2 separate regions of the Homo sapiens genome follow, and region 2 is linked to region 1. Evidence: promoter capture Hi-C in 16 types of primary human blood cells and fetal thymus (Javierre and others, 2016). All regions are on one chromosome and are shown on one strand. The core of a region is centred on a gene start or on the middle of the fragment in contact, and the rest is flanking DNA. Distances in the headings are between cores, read along the strand shown. Region 1 holds the start of BUB1B-PAK6 (BUB1B-PAK6 readthrough). Region 2 overlaps BUB1B-PAK6 (BUB1B-PAK6 readthrough).

Region 1 (5,691 bases), core at 2,561-5,060:
ACAATTCGAAGTCTAGGATATATAAATTTCCATGGCAAAATAGTTCATCTCTGCAAAGTTAAGCCATCTGTTATTTTAGTTTGCAAAAACTACATGACATGTTAGAAGCACAAATTTAACAGATACTATTTTATTATTTACAAAATACATGGTGATCATAAGAGAACATTTTACAAATTACAAATGGGAAAAGTACAGGGAAAAGTAGAGACAAATGGGTTAAATAACAAGGTAACCATTTGTAATGAGTCTGTTTAGAATAAAATAGTTCTTCACAAAAGTTAGACAAGGCCATGAGTAAGTATATCACTGTATAAAAAATATCAGTGACGTCAAAATATACCTGTACCAAAAAGTAGAACAGCAATGGTAGTGCATCTAAATGTGTCCTAAATTAAATTACAGCACATACAGTTTCAGTGTTCCACAATACAACCATTGCTCTGAGGCAGCAATCTGTGAGACTTGATTGCCTAGCTCACTGAAAGAGCAAAGCCCCAGGACTAGTTAACTTCCCTACCTTCCATAAGGCTTTGTTCAGGTGACTTTGGAATGTAGTGTCAAAAACCCCATTCATTTCTGCTGCAAGCTCCCCAAGAACAGACACTGTGGCCTCATCATTGGCATTCAGAATCCGCACAAAGAATTTATTCCACAATTCACCATCTTTTAGCCTAAAAATATATAAAACCATTTCCATCAAGATTAGGCATATGAAAATTATAATTCCTTTTAGTTTAACTCAGTGGTACATTTATGCACCAAAATGGTGTAAGGTAATACCTAGAACTCTAGGGTTAGAGATCATTCAAATAGTCCTTTGAAAGCCCAGGGAAGAACTACAAAAAAGGGCTACCATAGTGGGAAAAGCCAAGATACAATGCACATAAAGGGAAAGAAGATCTCTCATCTAAATCTATAAATTTCCTCTGTGTACTAAGACATAGCACTTTTCTTCTACAAATAGAAGAAAAAGGAATTTTATTTCCTCTAACTTTCCTAGAGTCTAGGTCATTAAAAAGGCTACAGCTCCTTTCTCCTACCCCAGTAGTGGATCTTCTTTACAATTCTCTGATAATCGTAAGCTTGACTAAACTAACTACTGCTTAATATGTTTGTACCTTTGCTTCTTATTATTTTCTTTTGATCAGAGAAACTTCCCTTATTAGATAAGGCAGGGCTGTTAGGAAACCCCAACTGACCCCACTTGTTTCTGCTTGTGTTAGCCAGACCTGCCTGGACCATAGCCAAGTGGACATGCCTATATCCATCCTATATGTCTTACATTGTATTTCAAGCCTATTTTTAAAAGTTCATGTAAGAGACAACACTGGCCAAGTTCTGAATTAAATGAAGAGAAAAGTACAATTCAATTATTCAAAGATGAAAATAGAGAAGGGGCATTAAATCTTCAACACTCATTTTTTTTTTTAACCAAAGAATATAACAATAGGTGACAGGCTGGGAACTTATTTGCTAAGATAAGCTAAAGTGGAACGTAGATACTTAGTTTTTTTTGAGACGGAGTCTCACTCTGTTGCCCTGGGTGGAGTGCAGTGGCGCGATCTCAGCTCACTGCAACCTCTGCCTCCCAGGTTCAAGTGATTCCCGTGCCTCAGCTTCCCAAGTAGCTAGGATTACAGGCATGTGCCACCACACCCAGCTAATTTTCTTGTATTTTGAGTAGAGACAAGGTTTCGCCATGTTGCCCAGGCTGCTCTCAAACTCCTGACCTCAGGTAATCTGCCTCGGCCTCCCAAAGTGCTGTGATTACAGGTGTGAGCCACCATGCCCGGCTGACTTAGTAAGTTTTATGAGCAGGCTTGAGGGAGTACTAAGGTTCTGAGACCAAGCAGTGCTTATTAAGAGACCACTTACTTCTTCTCCAGGAGAGTCAGTTATCTGGTTTGGTTCTATCCACTTATTAAATAAAAAATAGCCTAAAATTAGCATATAGTTTAGAAATGTAAGTCTTTTCAAAGGATGCTTATTAACTTTTGGTAATAATTGCTATTAAAAAGGAATTTAGGCCAGACACGGTGGCTCACACCTGTAATCCTAGCACTTTGGGAGGCCGAGGCGGGCGGATCACAAGGTCAGGAGTTCGAGATCAGCCTGGCCAACGTAGTGAAACCGCATCTCTACTAAAAATACAAAAATGAGCCAGGCATGGTGGCGCACGCCTGTAATCCCAGCTACTCAGGAGGCTGAAGCAGGAGAATCACTTGAACCTGGGAGGCAGAGGTTGCAGTGAGCCGAGATCATGCCACTGCACTCCAGCCTGGGCAACAGAGCGAGACTCCGTCTCAAAAAATAAATAAATAAAGAAAAAGGAATTTAAGGCTAACACCAATTAGTTAGAAAATTATTCTCATGAAATGCTTCTTTTCACATATCTAAACAGGGAAGCTTCCATACTATAGCTGTAGTCTGGAAGATACAGCTAGATTCAGAATGATGTCCTGAAGTCTGAATAGTTTTGAATCTTATTTTTAGTAAGCAGTTCCTTTTTCCTGCACTAGCTGCTCTGCTGATACTCTAATGAAAACTGGCTGAAACTACTGGAACCATGGCATTTGGATTAAAAAACTAAGGCTGCCAAAGCAGAGATAGCACCCAAGAGAAACAGAAAATTATTGGGACAGGCAGAGACCCTGACATTCATCAATACTTACTCAGAAATATTTTGGCTAAGTTTCCAGAAGGACCCATCCCAGAAGACCTGTAGGTGTTCCTTGAACAATAGTAAATGTGCTAAATCTGCTATACCAAACAGGTCTACCTGAAATCACAAAAAGCACCATCAGCTAAAATAATTCTCTGCCTCTACCATGGCAGCTTATTTCGGTAGGAAGTTGAAAGGTATTACAGTGCTTAACTAAGTTTATTTTATGACATACATTTTAGTAGACTGTTCCTCACCCTTACAGTAAAGGGAGAAGCTCTCCAAAGAAGTGATCAATAGAGCCAATTCTAGGAATTATCCTTAAGAACAAAAGATGAAATATTTGGACTATCACATTCAAATTTGTAGACCTACTGAGTTTGCATGAACTCCAGCTGTGATCTAAATGGGGTCCACATGATTAGTTCAGGTTTGTGCTACATATTCAATCAGCAAATGTCTTATGTCTAAAGCTGAGTTAGAAGGAATTTCTGCATATAATGCCACCATACAAAAGACTTTACATTTGTGCTAATGTTCTTTTTATATACATTACTTCATTTACTCCTCATAACAATTCTGATAAACACATAGCAGAGACTGTTATCCCTATTTTACAGAGAAGATCACAGAAAATGACTTATAAAAGATTACATGGGTGGTAGGCAGTAGGAGTGGCCCTGGCACTCGGTTACAGAGTTAGTCATGTGTTTGCACATGTATGTGTATATTCTTCAATGCTGTAACACAAAAATGTTACATTTTACTTGACTTGGTGATATTTGAAAACTAGGTCATCTATTCTAGGAGTCGGTATCAGTAAACAGTAGCTTTTATAGCTTATCTAGATAATAAAGAGATTAAGAAACCCTCTCCATATTTGCTCAGGCTTGTTTTACACTTACCTGGTAGGGAGAAGAACAGTTAGCCAGGATCTTTTGTCCTTCCAGGATCTGTACAGTCCGAAAGCCGCTGAGGGTAAAAACATCCAGCTGCACCCTAAGGTCAACACTGTAGGAAAAGTCCACTATCTTCAAAGCTTGATTGTTCTTGTTACAATCATAGGGATCGTGGATTCTGAGCCCAGATTTAAGAGAAGGAGATAATAAAAATAGGCCATGAAAGAAGCTGCATAGCTGGTCTTTAAAAAAAAAAGGTACCTTGGGTACATCTTAGCTATGCCAACAACTCCCTCCAGTGGTTAATTTTGAAAATGCACCTGTAAGACAGAGCAGTGGCAGTGTCCACCCAATGCGGAAGGAATGTCACCACTTTGGTGACACAAAGTATATTTCAATCACGGTGCATGGCCACCATTAAACATTTATCAAGCTTCCATATTATATAAAGTAAGTATGGAAGCAGAGCACAGGCTTCTTCCCTGTACTGTACACATTAACACATACAATTGCAATGATTTATACACTGACAGGAATTATGATGGAGGAAATTAAAATTTTATAGGTGTCATAGCCTTTCTTGTTTACTATTCCAGATAGGCTTTCCAAGTATTGTTTAGATTCTTCCTTCCAGAGTTTAATGGAAAACAATGCAAGTCTGTTTTATAAAGTCCTATCTGTATTGTAAAATTTCTTGTAAAACACCATATTTTATCTTACTCTTACTTGTAATTCCAGTTATTTACTAAAAAAATCTTTATAATACTAATTAATTATCAATTAATTTTGTTTTCCTTGGGTTTATCTATCCTATGCAATAATGCTATTCTCCAAGGGGACATAGGAACTGTTTATAAATGAAAAGAGTGGGTTTTCATGTGTTCCTTTTGTCTGTTTTTCTCAATTAATTCCCTCAAACTCCTGATATTGGTGCAATATTCCTAAATACAGTCTTTAACTACTCCAATTACATACCTCCACGGCACAGAATGATCTATGTATTTTACTTTAAAATTGATAATTGCTCTCATTTTTCCTTGGCACAAGAGCCAACCTTTTTTGGCCACCATAAAACTATACTATAATTAAAAAAAAAAAAAAATATATATATATATATATATATATAGTATATATATAGTTATAGGGATCGTGGATTCTGATATATATAAAATATACATATGTATTTTATATATATATGTAAAGTGTGTGCATGTGTGTGTTTTGTTTGGTTTCTTAGACAAGGTCTACACTCTTGTCACTGAGGCTGGAGTACAGTGGTGCGATCTCAGCTCAGTGCAGTCTCTGCCTCCTAGGTTCAAGCGATCCTCCCATCTCAGCCTCCCGAGTAGCTGGGACTACTGGTGTGTGCCACCATGCCTGGCTAATTTCTTAATTTTTTGTAGAGATGAGGTCTCATTATATTGCCCAGACTGGTCTTGAACTCCTAGGCTCAAGTGATCCTCTGCCTTGGTCTCCCAAAGTGCTGGGATTACAGATGTGAGTCACCATGCCCAGTGTAATTGTAAAATATTTATATAACTTTGGAGGCATAGGGAAAAAATGTCTCATAGATTAATAAAAAGAAGCATGCATGAAGGTGTCCTAGCCCTCTAATCAGCTACTCACTCACTGTTACTTTGGGTAGGACATTCCATTTTTTTGGATCTCATTTTCCTCACAAAAAATATGCAGAAACTAAAGTAAGCAACTAAACTAAGCAATTTCAAAAGGTTCTTTCTGGCTTTTATTTTATTTTTGTAGAGACAGGGTCTTGCTATGTTGACCAGGCTGGTCTTGAACTCCTGGCCTCAAGAGATCCTCCTGCCTCTGCCTCCCAAAGTGCTGGGATTGCAGATGTGAACCACTGCATCCAGCCCTTTCTGGCTTTTGTTGTTGTTTTGTTTTGAGATGGAGTCTCGCTCTGTCACCCAGGCTGGAGTGCAGTGGCATGATCTTGGCTCACTGCAAGCTCTGCCTCCCGGGTTCACGCCATTCTCCTGCCTCAGCCTCCTGAGTAGCTGGGACTACAGGCACCTGCCACCACGGCTGGCTATCTTGTTGTATTTTTAGTAGAGACAGGGTTTCACTGTGTTAGCCAGGATGGTCTTGATCTCCTGACCTCGTGAT
Region 2 (6,098 bases), core at 987-3,486, 46 kb before region 1:
GTGGGGGTCAGTGCGCTCAGACTGGGGGCTCTGGAGGTACATGTCTGGGTCGGTGGCCCAGTGCTCATCCCCCAGCAGCCCCAGGGACTGTGCCCGCCGCCGGCTGGTGGGGCTGCGGCCACGCAGGGTGTTGGAGCTGATGACTGACAACTTCTGGATGTCGTTGAGCAGCCCCGAGATGTAGCCATCCACAGGCATCGCGCTGCCCCGCACCACTGTCTGTAGGGGGAAGAGAAAAGAGTGTGTGGGAGCTGCCCAATTGTGGCAGGGAGGGGTGGCTGGGAGATCAGGGTCAGAGAATGTCCCTGGGGGCCCTGGGGAGGACCACCTAAGGACCTTCCCTGCTGTGTCATCCACCCATTAATTTTTCCATAATTTATCAGGGCCCACCGTGGGTCCCGCCTGTGCTGGATGCAGGGATGCGGGGAGAAGGCCCAGCGTCAGCAGAGCAGATGGTGAGTGCCATGGGGCTGCATCCAGCATGCCCAGGGGTGTGGTCGGCTGGGCCAGGGAGCTGGAGCTCAGGGGGCGGGGCTCCATTCTCTAGCTCCACGGGTGGCTGGGAGAGATGTGCCCAGCCCTCTGAGGAAGAGACACCAGGCCGGGGGCTCCTCCACACACACTGGCTTCGCAGCCTCCAAACCCTGATAGGGCCCCTGACCCCACCTTCTACCAGGCTCTTGGGTCTACTAGTCGTGACCCTCACAACTAAAATTCTCCTGGTCTGGGAGAGCCCTCAGTCCCTATGGGGCTGCAGGTCCAAATATTGAATGGGACACGTCCTAAAAGACTATTCGTTGTCATCTGAAATACAAATGCAATTGAGCATCTCACATTTTCATGTGCTGAATCTGGCAACCCCACCACCCTGCAGAGAGGGTCTCCCCAGCCTCCTTCGCCCTGGCTTACCCAGGGAGAGAATGGCAGGCTGACAGGCAGGGAGTTAAAACAGCTGATTAACTGATAGCTGTGAAGTAGGTGGTTCCTCCAGGGGCCTTTCTGAGGTTTAGCCAGGCATGGTTGTCTGAGTACTGGGAGAGGCTGAACCTCATCCCTGCCGGCCCCTCTTACCTTCATGGGCTGGAGCTGCACCCGTGTGATTCGCGAAGGGTCCACCACGGGCTTGGGGCGCCGCAGTGTGTCCAGGATGTTCTGCCATTGTGGGGGGAGGCCCACAAACTTGCCTTCTTTGGGGTCGAAGGAGGTGTGGACACGGTGCTGGAAGTTCTGTGGCGCTGAGATCTCAGGGCGTTTCTTCTTTTTCTTGCGGAACATGGTGCCTGTAAGTGCAGAGTAAGGTTGAGCTCCCTCCCGGGAAAGAGGGGTGGCTGCAGCAGGGCCTGGGGCACCAGGTTCAGGGCTCCCTCCCCTCCCCCAGCACAGCTCCCCTAGAAGCCTAGGGCTTCCCTCCACCTCCATCTCTGCTTCCTCAGGGAAATGGCTGGCTCCCAGCAGAACAGTCCCAGAAACAACAAACGTGCCATAAATAAGCCAGTGCAGACTATAAACAAGGAAAAGAGGTGTCTTCTTGCCTGTGCCAAGTCCCCTATGGAGCAGGCAGACTCTGGGGGTGTGTTTTTATAAAATCCAAAGCCCATTACAAGTATCATTCCACTGTCTGTCAACGAATTTTAAAAATGGGGAAAGAGGGAGGAAAGTTAGCAAGCTTGTTTTATGAAACGAGTATGACCTTGATTCTTAAAACCAGATAAGGAGAGTGCAAGAAAAGGAAAATTTGACTCAATATCATTTAGGAACGTAACTATGAAAATCTTAAAACTATCGAATTGAATCCAACAGTATATTAAAGTTATTTTTTTGTTGGCTTTTTTTTTTTATTACAACTCAGCTTTGTCCCAGGATGGTTGAACCTGTTAATATGATACGTTAATAAAAAGCCAACCAGCTGATCACAGACATGCTGCCCGGTGTGGGACTATTATGTATCAGGGAGCCCCCAAAGGGCCTTCATGGTTACCATGTGCTTTACCTCAATTCCAGAAAGGCCCTGAGCCAAGAGGATAGCCTGGGGTGGGTGAGGGGCAGCTAACTTAGGGGTAAAGCTCTCCAGAGAAGGCAGAGAGCACCACCTCCCCTTGACACTCTTCTCTCTGGTATTGGAGCTCTATGTAAAACATCACCTGGGCCGGGCATGGTGGTTCATGCCTGTAATCCTAGTACTCTGGGAGGCCGAGGCGGGTGGATCACCTGAGGTCAGGAGTTTGAGACCAGCTTGGCCAACATGGTGAAAACCTGTCTTGACTAAAAATACAAAGAAATTAGCCGGGCCTGGTGGCACGTGCCTGTAGTCCCGGATACCCATGGGGTTGAGGGAGGAGAATCGCTTGAACCCAGGAGGCTGAGGCTGCAGTGAGCTGAGATTGCCCCACTGCACTCCAGCCTGGGCAACAGAATGAGACTCTGTCTCAAAAAACAAACAATAAAACACTTAACCTGCAATCAAGCCTGTGTCCCGTGCCTTGCTGATTCTGGCTTTGCCTAAGGTCGTGCTGAGCTGCATACACAGAAGTGACACAGGCTTGCAATGGATAGCATGGGTAGATCTGAGAGTGGGGAACTGGGGGCCTGGGAAGGGGAGGGACACTTCCAAAGGGTTGCTCTAGTTTCGCCTTCAGGGGATCCCGGACCTGGGATCACATGTTGATGGCAGACAGGGCCAGGGCTGCCTCTTGAATGCTTTTGGATCTGAAGAGGCTCAGAACAGCTCACTGGGTTCTTATGTATCTGAAAAGGTCACTTCCAGGCTTCAAGAAACTGAAACATGATTCTTGAACTGAAAGCTTGGATTACTCATCCGCCCGAAGATCTGGAGTGCAGGGCCGTCATGTTCTCTTTTGGCTCTTGCTATGGAAACAGCATTTTCCTAGTCATTTTGGCAGGTTCTGAAGGAGGTCGCAGATCTGGGAGGCAGCTGGCAGAAAGGCAGGGACCCTGGACAGCCAGTGGTTCCCCACTAGGAATTCACCATGCGTGACTCAATCAGAGCCCACGTCACATCTCAATGTCAGCCATGCTTCTGGGTCTTGAGGTTCGGGATCCACCGAACACCCCCTAGAGGTAGAGCCACATGTACAGGACCCTTACAGACCAAGCCCTTTGGAATAAAACAACCTGTGTGAGTTGCAGATGAGTTGTAGGGAGTCTCCCACTAATAATTTGGAGAGATTTTGAACAAATAACTGAAATGATCTGAGCCAGGGGGGTTAATGAAAGACAGCTCATAGGGTTTAGGGTGTGTGAAGTAAGCAGAGTCCCCATACATGACGGTTGTTTCTCTTGTGATGTCACCTCTCTTTGAATCCCTGTCTTGAAGCTCAGGCCCTCCAGACACTGGCACTTGGGCAGATACAAGTCTGGGAGTAACACCAAACCACTTTCTGCTCAGACTTACCAGTCAAAGGGGTCATGCCTGATGTCAGGGGTCTGGGACCTGGGGACCTCGCCATATATACATCATGGTTTGGTAAAATTTGTCCTCCTCCTTTTGGCCTTTGCCTTTTTTGTTGTTGTTTGTTGTTGTTGTTGTTGTTTTTGAGAAGGAGTCTTGCCGCCCTGTCGCCCAGACTGGAGTGTAGTGGCACCATCTGGGCTCACTGCAACCTCCACCTCCCGGGTTCAAGTGATTCTCTTGCCTCAGCCTCCTGAATAGCTGAGATTACAGGCACCCACCAACATACCCGGCTAATTTTTGTATTTTTAGTAGAGACGGGATTTCACCATGTTGGCCAGGCTGGTCTCGAACTTCTGACTTCAAATGATCCACCTGCCTTGGTCTCCCAAAGTGCTGGGATTACAGCCTTTGCCTTTTGCTACAGAAGAGTCTTTATTCAGCAGGTCTATTCCCCCAGTCCCTTGGATAGACCTGCTATCCCTGGATTAGTTGAGCTGCCTGTTTCGCCCTCCTCCCTAGCTCTGTGAAATCTTCTGGAGGTGCAGGGACACAGACTGCAGCTGAAGAAGAGCTGGTGAATCCGCCCCCCACCACCCACCCCAGAACAGCCCTCTCCCCAACTCCCCTGCCCCACCCAAGCGCTCAGCTTTTGCTGTGGGGATGCACAGGGAGAGCATCTTTAGCAAATGGTCTCTGACTCTGGGAGCCTCTCTTGAGTCCATTCTAATAGTGAGCCATTCCGGAACAAGTTCTTCCCAGAGGCAGCAGGGAGGCTGGAGAAGAAAGAAGGACAGCCCAGAGGGTGTCCCAGGGCCAGGAGTGGTGATGGTGAGGGTGGGAGTTGGCAGAAGCAATCAGCTGAGCTCAGGCTTTGGGGGCTAGGGAGTAGAGCTTTAGAAACCAGAGGCCATCACTTAGGTCTGGAAAATCAACCAATCAACCACCTAAAGGGAGGCAGCTAGGACTCATCTGAAATGTGGTGAGGCCAACACTGTGTGGGACAACATAACTGTGTAAGTAGAAAATGCGGGAGAATCTACATAAAACTGGGATTAAGGGAGTGAATTTAGAAGGTCCCTGATTCAAGGTCAATATATATATATATATTTTTTGAGATGGAGTCTCGCTGTCTTGCCCGGGCTGGAGTGCAGTGGTGTGATCTCAGCTCACTGCAATCTCTGCCTCCCGGGTTCAAGTGATTCTCCTGCCTTAGCCTACTGAGTAGCTGGGACTACAGGCGCACGCCATCACGCCCAGCTAATTTTTGTATTTTTAGTAGAGATGGGGTTTCACCATGTTGGCCAGGATGGTCTCGATCTCTTGACTTCATGATCCACCCGCCTCAGCCTCCCAAAGTGCTGGGATTACAGGCATGAGCCACCGTGCCCAGGCTCAAGGTCAATATTTTAAAAAATCAACTGGATTTCTACATACCAGTAACAACATGAAATTTTTAAAAAGGGCCAGGCGCGGTGGCTCACGCCTGTAATCCCAGCACTTTGGGAGGCCGAGGTGGGCGAATCACGAGGTCAGGAGATAGAGATCATCCTGGCTAACACGGTGAAACCCCGTCTCTACTAAAACTACAAAACATTAGCCGGGTGTGGTGGTGGGCACCTGTAGTCCCAGCTACTCAGGAGGCTGAGGCAGGAGAATGGCGTGAACCTGGGAGGCGGAGCTTGCAGTGAGCTGAGATCAGGCCACTGCATTCCAGCCTGGGCGACAGAGCGAGACTCTGTCTCAAAAAAAAAAATGAAATTTTTAAAAAGATATCATTTTACATTAAAAATACAAAATATCTAGAATAAATCTAACAAAAAAATACAAAGTCCTTATATTGGAAAATACAAAACATTATTAAAGATATTAAAGAATGTTCATAGATGAGAAGGTTCAATACTGTAAAGATGTCAATTATTCCCAAGTTAACCTGCAGATTAATTTAAATCTCAAACAAAATCCCAGCATATTTCCTTTGGTAGAAATTGATGAACTGATTCTAAAATGTATACAGAAATATAAAGAACCAGGAATAGCCAAGACAATCTTAATGAACGAAGTTGGAGGATTGTACTAAATAGATATTAAGATTTATTAGAAAGCTACAATAATTAATTTAGTATGGAATTGGCAAATAGGCAATAGGCAAATAGGCAAAAATTGGCAAATTTAGTACGGAATTGACAAATAGACCAATGGAACAGAAGAGAGAATCCAAAAATAGACCCACTCTTATGAGGTCATTTGATTAATGACAAAGGTGACCCTGCAACATGCTGGGGGAATGGATGATGTTTTTAATAAATGTAGCTGAAGTAATTTGATATCTGCATGGAAAAAAAATAAACCCGGAAGAATGAGCTCATATCATACTCCAAAATTATGCAGACAGATCACAAACCTCAATGTGAAAGGTAAAATAATAAAGCTGGTGGGAGTGACGGCGGGTACCCGTAGCCTGACTCTCACCTCCCTCAGGTCTAGTGTGATCATTATGAGGGGCCCGATTTGGTGGTCTCTCCTGGATCCCACGACCTGCTGGGGCCTAAACCTGTCCACAGTCATGGGTCCCAGACACAAATTAAACTATCAAGGTTTACTTTGGCGAAAGTGGAATTCTTGATGATATAGATTAGGGGTAGGGGGTTTTTAAAGATTTTGCCAATGGTAATTTGTCAATGCAGTG

What was found. The method cuts DNA at HindIII sites, captures the fragments that hold promoters and counts their contacts. A CHiCAGO score of 5 or more calls a contact.
Region 2: a contact is called between a fragment that was not itself captured here and the fragment with the promoter of BUB1B-PAK6 in region 1, in 10 of 17 cell types (M0 macrophages, M1 macrophages, M2 macrophages and 7 more). The highest score is 15.3, in M0 macrophages.

The regions. Positions count from the first base shown.
Region 1 is chr15:40,215,547-40,221,237 of GRCh38, reverse strand. It overlaps BUB1B-PAK6 (BUB1B-PAK6 readthrough), which reads right to left and starts at 3,810. Exons shown (of 10, transcript NM_001128629.3): 1 at 3,571-3,810. It overlaps BUB1B (BUB1 mitotic checkpoint serine/threonine kinase B), which reads right to left. Exons shown (of 23, transcript NM_001211.6): 21 at 3,571-3,742; 22 at 2,676-2,782; 23 at 115-674. The coding sequence ends at 479. All of the region lies in intron 1 of LOC107984763 (a long non-coding RNA gene), which reads left to right. The HindIII fragment of the contact is 293 bases long and covers 3,707-3,999 here.
Region 2 is chr15:40,259,963-40,266,060 of GRCh38, reverse strand. BUB1B-PAK6 (BUB1B-PAK6 readthrough) reads right to left here. Exons shown (of 10, transcript NM_001128629.3): 3 at 1,072-1,280; 4 at 1-219. The coding sequence starts at 1,275. PAK6 (p21 (RAC1) activated kinase 6) reads right to left here. Exons shown (of 11, transcript NM_001395430.1): 4 at 1,072-1,280; 5 at 1-219. The coding sequence starts at 1,275. Among named protein-coding and RNA genes, the nearest start is that of PAK6-AS1, 10 kb to the right of the region's middle. The HindIII fragment of the contact is 1,135 bases long and covers 1,669-2,803 here.